Regions from separate parts of the Homo sapiens genome. Here regions 1 and 3 are each linked to region 2. Evidence: promoter capture Hi-C in human tissues and cell types (Jung and others, 2019). All regions are on one chromosome and are shown on one strand. The core of a region is centred on a gene start or on the middle of the fragment in contact, and the rest is flanking DNA. Distances in the headings are between cores, read along the strand shown.

Region 1 (3,029 bases), core at 225-2,724, 73 kb before region 2:
AAAATAATCCCTTTTAAGATGTATTCTGTCTTATTCTTTCCTTTGACATCTATTTCTTCTTTTAGCCCTTCAATCACTTTAGACATTTCTATTATAATCTCTTCTATTATTTGAATTCTCATGTTGAGAATCTTGTGTTTGTTGTGATCGCTGACTCATGTTCTAATTTCTACATGCTTGGTAATTTCCTAGAACAAGCTCATCATCTGTGGGCATCCTAGGATTCCAAAAGGCCTGTACTGTGCAAGGGTCACTCTAGAAAAGTTCTGCCTTTGTTCTGCAAGCAAGAAGCTTCAGGGGTATCGCCAGTCTGCTGGCTGGTCTGGTGCCAGCTCGGGCATTCCTGCAACATGTAGATGTTATAAACACAGACTTAGAACTTGGATGTTTTCCACTGTTCACAGAAGACTTCCTCCAACACAATCCAGAGTGTGGGGCAATGATCAGCTCCCTTGACATTTCTCTGATCCCATGGGGGAAATTTTCTTGCATCCCTTTTACCTGGGAATGGCTCTTTTGAGGGGATTTCTGTTTCAACTCCATGCTTCACGTGTTCATGCAAATCCAAACCTCTATTATTGTTAGGGTCGATTTCAGGGTCCAATGAACCCACCTTGCCCCTCCCCAGAGCTGCCTACTCTGCTCTGGCTTTATATTCCTGCTTTGCTTTCGGTTCTCTGTTTTTCTTTCTTATTCTGTTGTTATAGCTTATATAGCATTTTAAGTGATTGTAATGGGAGCGGTTCTAACTTTAGCTCAAGCTACCATGTCACTGAAACAGGAAATCCACCCCATTGTCTTCTGGCTTCCAATGAGGTTGAAAAATCCAATCCATCTTCATTCCCAGTCTTTTGTATGTGACCCGTTTTTGCTCTTCGGAAGCTTTATGCCCAGTGCTCTGGAATCACACAATGTGCCACAGGACATTTTCCATTTACCATTTTTGAAACTTATGACTGTCCATTCTGAAATAATTCTTGTTTCTCTGATACATTATGGTCCTTAATTTTCCCTTTCTCTCTTTATAGACTTCCTAGATGTCAGACGTTTTTAATCTGTTTCCTGGGAGCCTTCGTCAACTTCAAAGAAAAAGTAATGGTTTTAATTTCCGAGAACTCTTTCTTGTTCTGATTTTTATAGTAACTTTTTATTTCATGGATAAAATATTGGCTCTTCTTTCTGAGTATATTTGCCATGTGCTTTAAGGCTTTCTCCTACCTGAATCAGCTCTGATTCCTCGGAGATACATTTTTCTCTTTGCTTTCTCTGGCCTCTACCTTCCATACTGGAAGCTTTCTGAACATATCCAGTTATTCTTGGCATCCATTCCTATTTAAAAGTGAGGCAATAAGAGATCTTTGTGGTGATGGAAGAGTTGTGTATCTTGACTGCTGTTACATGTGGTTACATGAATCCACAGATGTGATAAAGGGTGTGAAACTGTATGCACATATTGTGTACCCATGTCAATTCCCTGATTTTCATATTGTCTGTGATTATATAAGACATGACCATCAAGGGAAACTGCATGAAGGGTAGAGGGGACCCCTCTACTATTTTTTTTTTTTTTTTTGAGATGGAGTCTTGCTCTGTCGCCCAGGCTGGAGTGCAGTGGCATGATCTTGGTTCACTGCAACCTCTGCCTCCTGGGTTCAAGCAATTCTCCTGCCTCAGCCTCCCGAGTAGCTGGGATTACGGGCGCATGCCACCATGCCCGGCTAATTTTTGTATTTTTAGTAGAGACGGGGTTTAACCATGTTGGCCAGGCTGGTCTCGAACTCCTGACCTCGTGATCTGCCCGCCTCGGCCTCCCAAAGTGCTGGGATTACAGGCATGAGCCACCGCGTCCAGCCAGCCCTCTACTATGTTTGCAACTTCCTATGCATCTATAATTATTTCAAAATAAAAAGTTGGGCTGGGGATGGTGGCTCATGCCTGTGATCCCAGCACTTTGTGAGGCTGAGGTGGGCAGATCACTTGAGCTCAGGAGTTTGAAACCTGCCTAGGCAACATGGCAAAACCCCATCTTGACAAAAAACACACAAATTAGCCAGGAGTGGTGGCGCATGGCTGTAATCCCAGCTACTTGGGAGGCTGAGGTGGGAGAAGTGCTTCAGCCTGGGAGGCAGAGGTTGCAGTGAGCCAAGATTACACCACTGTACTCCAGCCTGGGTGACAGAGTGAGACTCTGTCTCAAAAAAAAAAAAAAAAAAAAAAAGTTAAAAAAGTTGAGGTGATAAAAAGATGATAGAAACCCTGTGAACATAAGCAAGGCTCTGGACAGGTGAGGACCACATTAGATGGAGTAGAAAGCTGGCCACTGCTGTGAGGAGCCACTACATACTGGCAATGGCAGGTCTTGTTGCTGACATGCTCATTTTTTCCAGACTGGAATCCAATGCCATGCCTCATGCCTGGCCTCAGCACTCCAGGAGCAGGCAGGGGCATGGCTGGGATTTGCTCTTTTAGTGTGCAGACGTTCATGAATCCCTCTTTCAGTCCAGCGTTACCCTGCCCCTTGCTCTGCCCAAGGTACCTCAATCTGGTGCATAAGCCTCTGCTCTCTCACTCGCCAGCAAAGGGGATTGAGTATTTTCTGGTTTGCAGAATTCAAAGAGATGACTTGGGAAGTTTCATCCCTCCCTATACAGACTGTCAACTAATCATAATCCCTCTGCTTTTAGGCCCAAACCTTATTCCCACCTTGAGTGCCACCAATTGCCTCCAATTCCTGATGCTTTCTAAAGTGCTTTTCCTTGGTGTTTTTCCGCAGGTACCAACATTTCAGCCTCTGCTCTGCTCAGTCTTCTGTTTGCCTTCCACCTTCTAGAAATTGGAGATCTTTTGTTATTGTTTTCTCTCCCATTCTGTGTCCTTGTGGGTTTATACATCTAAAAACAATTATTTTGCTGTTATTTTAGCAGAGTTTCTAGGGGAAGTAGATTTAAATGAATATGTTCAATCTACCATGTTTACCTAAAGTATGCTAACCGAAGATTTTTTTTTTCAATTTGAGAGCAGGTACTATT
Region 2 (2,901 bases), core at 335-2,834:
CAGCCCAGCCTTCCTGGGAGATTGCCCTGGGGTTAAGCACCCCAGGCCTGGGCTGCAAGGGGGTCCTCTGTTCCCAACCTCTCCCCCACAGCACCTAGACCAGCTTCCTGCAGGGCCAGTGGAGATTGGGAAAGGCGGTGTCTCATGGCACCAAAGGAAGACTCTTGTGAGGGGAATAAGTGCCCTCACACTGCCTTACCCCTCATCTCATTCAGGTTTATTCCAAGTTCCTCCCCTAACCACTCTGGAAAACTGAGGTAGTTTCCCCAGTGAGGGAGCATCATTGAGAAGGAACCTGATGGACCAGCTGCTGCGCAGGGTTTCTCAGCCTCAGCACAGCCCAACACCTTGGGCTGGATAATTCCTCGTTATGTGGGCTGTTCCGTGCCCTGAAGATGTCTGGTAGCGTCCCTGGCCTCTACCCACTACCTGCCAGTAACAACAACACTCACTTCCCCTCCCAAGTGTGTGACACCCAAAATGACTCCAACATTGCCAAATATCCCATGGCAGGCAAAGTCGCCCCTGGTTGAGAACCACAGCTCTAAAACACGCCTCCCTTTCCACTGCCTGCCCTACGGACAGTGAGGGTCGAATAAGGCAGATGCTGGTCTCATTATATTACCAGCAAATGGCACACACTGGGGGCCTGATGCCAGCCGCCCAGGCAACAGCAGCCTCTCCCCAAGTGGGGTCAGCTCCCCACCGCCTTCTGCTCCTCAGACACACCCGCTGCCACCCTCTCAGTAGCTCCAACCCTAGAGCCCCCTCCGTTAATCTTTCATGGAATGGGGCAGGGCCAAAACCTAGGCTTCCTTTGCGCCCTGGCGTGGGAGTGGGGCGGGGTCTGTACCCTAGGGAACTTATCCGTCTCTATCCCAATGCCCTGGGGGAACATCCGAGGGGCCAAACAGGTAAAAGGCAAGCCCAGGGCCAACCTTCCCCAGCCCCTCCATCCAGAAGTCAGGACTCCTGGGTCCAATTTCTGAGCTCCGGTCCAGCCCTGCTGTGTGAGTCCCTCATCCCCACCCCCGCACCTGTTTCCACCTTGGCTGGCTCAACCAACAAACTTCGGCCCCGGTCCGCCCGGTGCTCACCCGGGAGAAAGTGGAGGGGAGAGAAGGGTCTGAACTGCAGGCACTTCTGGGACGCAGGCGGGACTGCCCTGCGCAGTCTCCTCTCTTCCTCCGGAGGTTTAAATCTCTGCCCAATCGTCTTGCCCCTACATCTGGCGCCCCGTCGCCCAGGGACCCCTTAGGCGTCCTGTCCGAGCCGAGCCCTAGGGGCCAGCAGACCGGGTCCAGCGGCCCCGCCGGCGCCGTCTGAGCCAGCCCGGGCCTCCAGCCGAGCCCACGTGGGACCCAGGCGCTCCGCAGGGCGGGCACCGGGCACTGGGCACCCTTCCTGGCCGCGCACCACCGCTCCAGGGCAGGCTCGGGCACAACCTCGGGACCCTTCCGGCGCCTGCGGCTGGGCGGCCGTGAGTCCTGCCCCGCTCGTCGCCCCGCGCTCACCTCCCTGCGGCCCCAAGTCCCCGGGACGCAACTCCGTGCGGCGCCTGCGAGCGGCTGGGCGGTGGCTCCTCGGGGGCGGGGCGGCGGCGCTCCGCCTCTTCCCTACCTGCGCGCGGGCGGCCGGGAGGCGGGGCTGGGCTCCAGGGGGCGTGGCCGGGCTCATGGGGGCGGGGCCTGGACGCAGTCTTTGCTCAGTCGGCTTCCTGGGTTCCTGCCTCCGCCCTCCACCCAGCTGGGTCCCCGCCTGGGCAGAGCCCTGTTTTCGCCTGAGCTGGTCTCTTCAGGGCGCCGTCCTTTCCCTCTTGGCGTCCTCACTCCACCCCAGACCAAACACGTCATCTAGGTCTTGATTGCCGTCTTCAAGTCGCCCCTCCCCATCAAGAAAAAGCACCCAATCTCCCATCCCCTTCTTCCAGCGCCCTCATCCTCAGGCCAAGTGGGCCTGTTCCCTTGACCCTTTTAGTCTGTAGTCACACTCTCTCCGGGAAGCTGGGCCTGAACACCTCCTCTCCCTCCTGGACCCTGAGGCCTCTCTCCTAGCTCTGCTGTGCCCTTGGGTTGGGAACAGGCACTCCGTGGAGGTCCTATCTGCATTTGCCCTGCAGCTAAGGCCAACATTTGTGACTCCTGCCAACCCCCTACACACCCCGTAGAAGCATTGACAGAACCCACCCAGCTCTGGCCCTTCCAGCTGCCATGCGGGCCAGAGCCAGACTGGAGATTGGGGACGCTGGCGACACCTGGCCCCTTGGCTTGGGTCTGTCTGCCCAGGTGGTTCCTTCTCTCTTCCCTGGACTCCAAGGGCCTGCCTCTTGGGACTAGACAAACAAAACCTTGGCCAGGGCAGCTAGGACCGAACTCCAAGGTCTGGATGCCCCGTTCTCAGCCCCAGCGCTTATCATCTCGCCGTCCCTCTCCAGGAGGCCTGGCTAGGCCAGGAGGAGCAGAGTTTGAAGAGACTCAGGCTTGGAGGGGTGGGGGTGGGGTTGTCAGGGCCAAGGCAAAACCTCTGGCCCTTAGAGAGCTCCTGAGCCACCCTGCCCCCCAACCCAAGGACTCTGGTGTTTATTGCTGACCTGGGTGGAGGTGGGGAGCACCTGGCTGCTGGAGATTATCCTGAGAGATGCATCTCTCCTCCCCAGCTCTGGGGCCATGAGGAGGGCACAGGCTGGAAGGAGGGGGAGTGGGCCAAAGCTGGGGTGGGGGTTGCTCCTAGTAACAAATGTAAGGGACCATTTATTGTGCAACCAGCACATCCTGGGGTTATGTGCAGAGAGGAACAAAACCAGGGCCTGCCCACGAAGTGCCAGCATTCTACAGGGAGACGTTGGAACTCAATACTGTAACAGGAAGGGTGAGAGCAGCTAGCCATTCCAAAGTGCTTTAG
Region 3 (2,912 bases), core at 65-2,564, 100 kb after region 2:
TGGTGTGTGCGTGAGTGTGTGTGTGTGAGTGTGTGTGTGTGTTTGTGTATGTGAAGGGGGTCGGGGTCAGGCCTCTAGTTCCCTGTTCCCCAGTGCCAACACAGAACTATTCTTTGTGCCCACCCAGTATGTGATAATCCAGAAAATGCCACATTTTTGTATAAACCGATTTGCAAACAATTTTGTAGATAAGTATAAATCCTCAAGCTTGGTACAGTGTACTTTTCTCCTTCTGTGAACACAATGTTTGACTTTAAGCTTTCCTTTAAATACCAGTCAAAGCAGGGAATAGTGACTTATGCCTGTAATCCCAGTACTTTGGGAGGCCGAGGTGGGCCGATCGCTTGAGCCCAAGAGTTCGAGACAAGCCTAGGCGACATCGTGAGACCCTGTCTCTACCAAAAAGAGAGAAAAAAAGTTAACTGGGTGTGGTGGCACATATGCAGGAAGCTAAGGTGGGAGGATCGTTTGAGCCTGGGAGTTCAAGGCTGCAGAGAGCTGCAATAGCGCCACTGCACTCCAGCCTGGGTGATGGGGTGAGACCCTCTCTCAAAAATAAATACATACAGTCAACAGGACATGTGAGGACTGCCATGGAGACCAGCATGAATGCAACACTATCCTCTGAGTACACTTTAGACTTTCCATTACTATCACCAGAAAGGGGTCCCAATCCAGACCCCAAGAGAGGGTTCTGGGATCTCATGCAATAAAGAATTTAGGGTGAGTCCAGAGTAAAGTGAAAGCAAGTTTGTTAGAGAAGTAAAGAAACAAAAGAATAGCTATTCCATAGGCAGAGCAGCCCCAAGAGCTGCTGGGTGGCTATTTTTTTTATTTATTTTTATTTTTAGTAGAGATGGGGTTTCATGGTGTTAGCCTGGATGGTCTCAATCTCCTGACCTTGTGATCCACCCGCCTCCGCCTCCCAGTGGGTGGCTATTTTTATGGTTATCTCTTGATCATATGCTAAACGAGGAGTGGATTATTATGTTTTCCAGGAAACGGGTGGGGATTTTTTGGAAATGAGGTTTCCTCCCCCTTTTAGACCATATAAGGTAACTTCTGAACGTTGCCATGGCATTTCTAAGCTTTCATGGTGCCGGTGGGAGTGACTTTAGCATGCTAATGCATTATAATTAGCATATAATGGGCAGTGAGGACTATTAGAGGTTACATTTGTTGCCATCTTGGTTTTGGCTGGCTTCTTTACTGCATCCTGTTTTATCAGCAGGGTCTTTGTGACCTGTATCTTGCGAGCTCCTATCTCACCCTATGACTAAGAATGTCTAACCCCCTAGGAATGCAGTACAGCAGGTCTCAACCTCATTTTACCCAGTCCCTATTCAAGATGGAGTCACTCTGGTTGAAGTGCCTGTAACATTACTAACACAAATATCTGTCCTGCTTCTGAATCTCTCTTGATCTCTCCAATGCACCCTCGACCCAGGAGCAACTTTTGGACCCTTTGCCTACTCCTCACTGCAAAAAAGAACAAGATCAAAAACTGCTGATCCTAGGCTGGGCATGGTGGCTCACACCTGTAATCCCAGCATTTTGGGAGGCCAAGGCAGGCGGACCGCCTGAGGTCGAGAGTTTGAGACCAGCCTGGCCAACATGGCGAAATCCCGTCTCTACTAAAAATACAAAAATTAGCCAGGTGTGGTGGCAGGCACCTGTAATCCCAGCTACTCGGGAGGCTGAGGCAGGAGAATCACTTGTACCTGGGAGGCAGAGGTTGCAGTGAGCCCAGATCGTGCCATTACATTCCAGCCTTGGCGAGAGAACAAGACTTTGTCTCAAAAAAAAAACAAAAAACCCAAAAAAACTGCTGACCCAGAAGCAGAGAATTGCGAGACGTGTTAGATCTGTACTTTAACCTTTTAAATCCTCTAAAACAGCTGAATTAGTTGTCTAAGTCCCAGGCATGTGAGAAAAGAGGAAAAATAATGTTAAATCCGTGAGTAACTGTGTGAGCCCTTGCACCAGTGACTCTGAAAGGCGGAAGAGAAAGAGAGACTGGGGTTGTTGAAAGATAAATTATGCTGCAACGTTTAATGGATAAGCCATGGTTTACCCACCGGTAAAACACTCAATTCCTGGCCCAGGCTTTGAATCATTGCAAGGGCACTCCTTGGGAAGAGGACATAGTTGGAGGCTGTTAGTCTGTTTTTACATTGCTATAAATACCTGACAGTGGATAATTTATAAAGAAAAGAGGTTTAATTGGCTCATTGTTCTGCAGGCTGTACAGGAAGCATGGTGCCCACATCTGCTTGGCTTCTGGTGAGGCCTCAGGGAGCTCTTATTCATGGCGGAAGGTGAAGTGGGAGCAGGCATGTCACTTGGAGAGAGAGCAATAGAGAGAAGGGAGAGGTCCCAGACTCTTAAACAACCAGACCTTGCATGAACTAACTGAGCAAAACTCACTTATCACCAAGGGGATGTTGCTGAGCCATTCATGAAGGATCTACCCCATGATCGAATCACCCCCCATCAGGCCCCACATCTAACATTAGGAATCATGTTTCAACATGAGGTTTGGAGGGGACACACATCCAAACCATATCAGAGGCCGTAGAGTTTGGAAGCCTGAACTTGCACTTGGGGTTTTTGGTCTAAGCTGGAAGGAGTCAAGAAAAAGGATGGGGCTGGGCGCGGTGACTCACACCTGTAATCCCAGCACTTTGGGAGGCTGAGGTGGGCAGATCACTTGAGGTCAGGAGTTCAAGACCAGCCTGGTTAAGATGGTGGAACTCCGTCTCTACTAAAAATACAAAAATTAGCCAGGCGTGGTGGTGCACACCTGTGATCCCAGCTACTCAGGAGGCTGAGGCAGGAGAATTGCTTGAACACAGGAGGCAGAGGTTGCAGCGAGCCAAGATCACACTATTGCACTCCAGCCTGGGTGGCAA

The links. Contacts are between HindIII fragments. The study calls those that stand out against the background at their distance.
Region 1: a contact is called between a fragment that was not itself captured here and the fragment with the promoter of RHBDF2 in region 2, in 6 of the 25 tissues and cell types used here (IMR-90 fibroblasts, adrenal gland, dorsolateral prefrontal cortex and 3 more).
Region 3: a contact is called between a fragment that was not itself captured here and the fragment with the promoter of RHBDF2 in region 2, in 3 of the 25 tissues and cell types used here (dorsolateral prefrontal cortex, mesenchymal stem cells and neural progenitor cells).

What each region holds. Positions count from the first base shown.
Region 1 is chr17:76,427,347-76,430,375 of GRCh38, forward strand. All of the region lies in intron 1 of UBE2O (ubiquitin conjugating enzyme E2 O), which reads right to left. It also overlaps the pseudogene RPL7P49. Among named protein-coding and RNA genes, the nearest start is that of UBE2O, 24 kb to the right of the region's middle. The HindIII fragment of the contact is 3,437 bases long and covers 1-3,029 here.
Region 2 is chr17:76,499,839-76,502,739 of GRCh38, forward strand. RHBDF2 (rhomboid 5 homolog 2) reads right to left here and starts at 1,585. Exons shown (of 19, transcript NM_001005498.4): 1 at 1,515-1,585. RefSeq lists enhancers at 843-1,512, 1,863-2,002 and a silencer at 1,173-1,812. The HindIII fragment of the contact is 32,589 bases long and covers 1-2,901 here.
Region 3 is chr17:76,600,784-76,603,695 of GRCh38, forward strand. No RefSeq gene overlaps it. Among named protein-coding and RNA genes, the nearest start is that of ST6GALNAC2, 16 kb to the left of the region's middle. RefSeq lists a silencer at 304-598 and enhancers at 449-1,648, 975-1,522, 1,523-2,069. The HindIII fragment of the contact is 3,370 bases long and covers 1-2,912 here.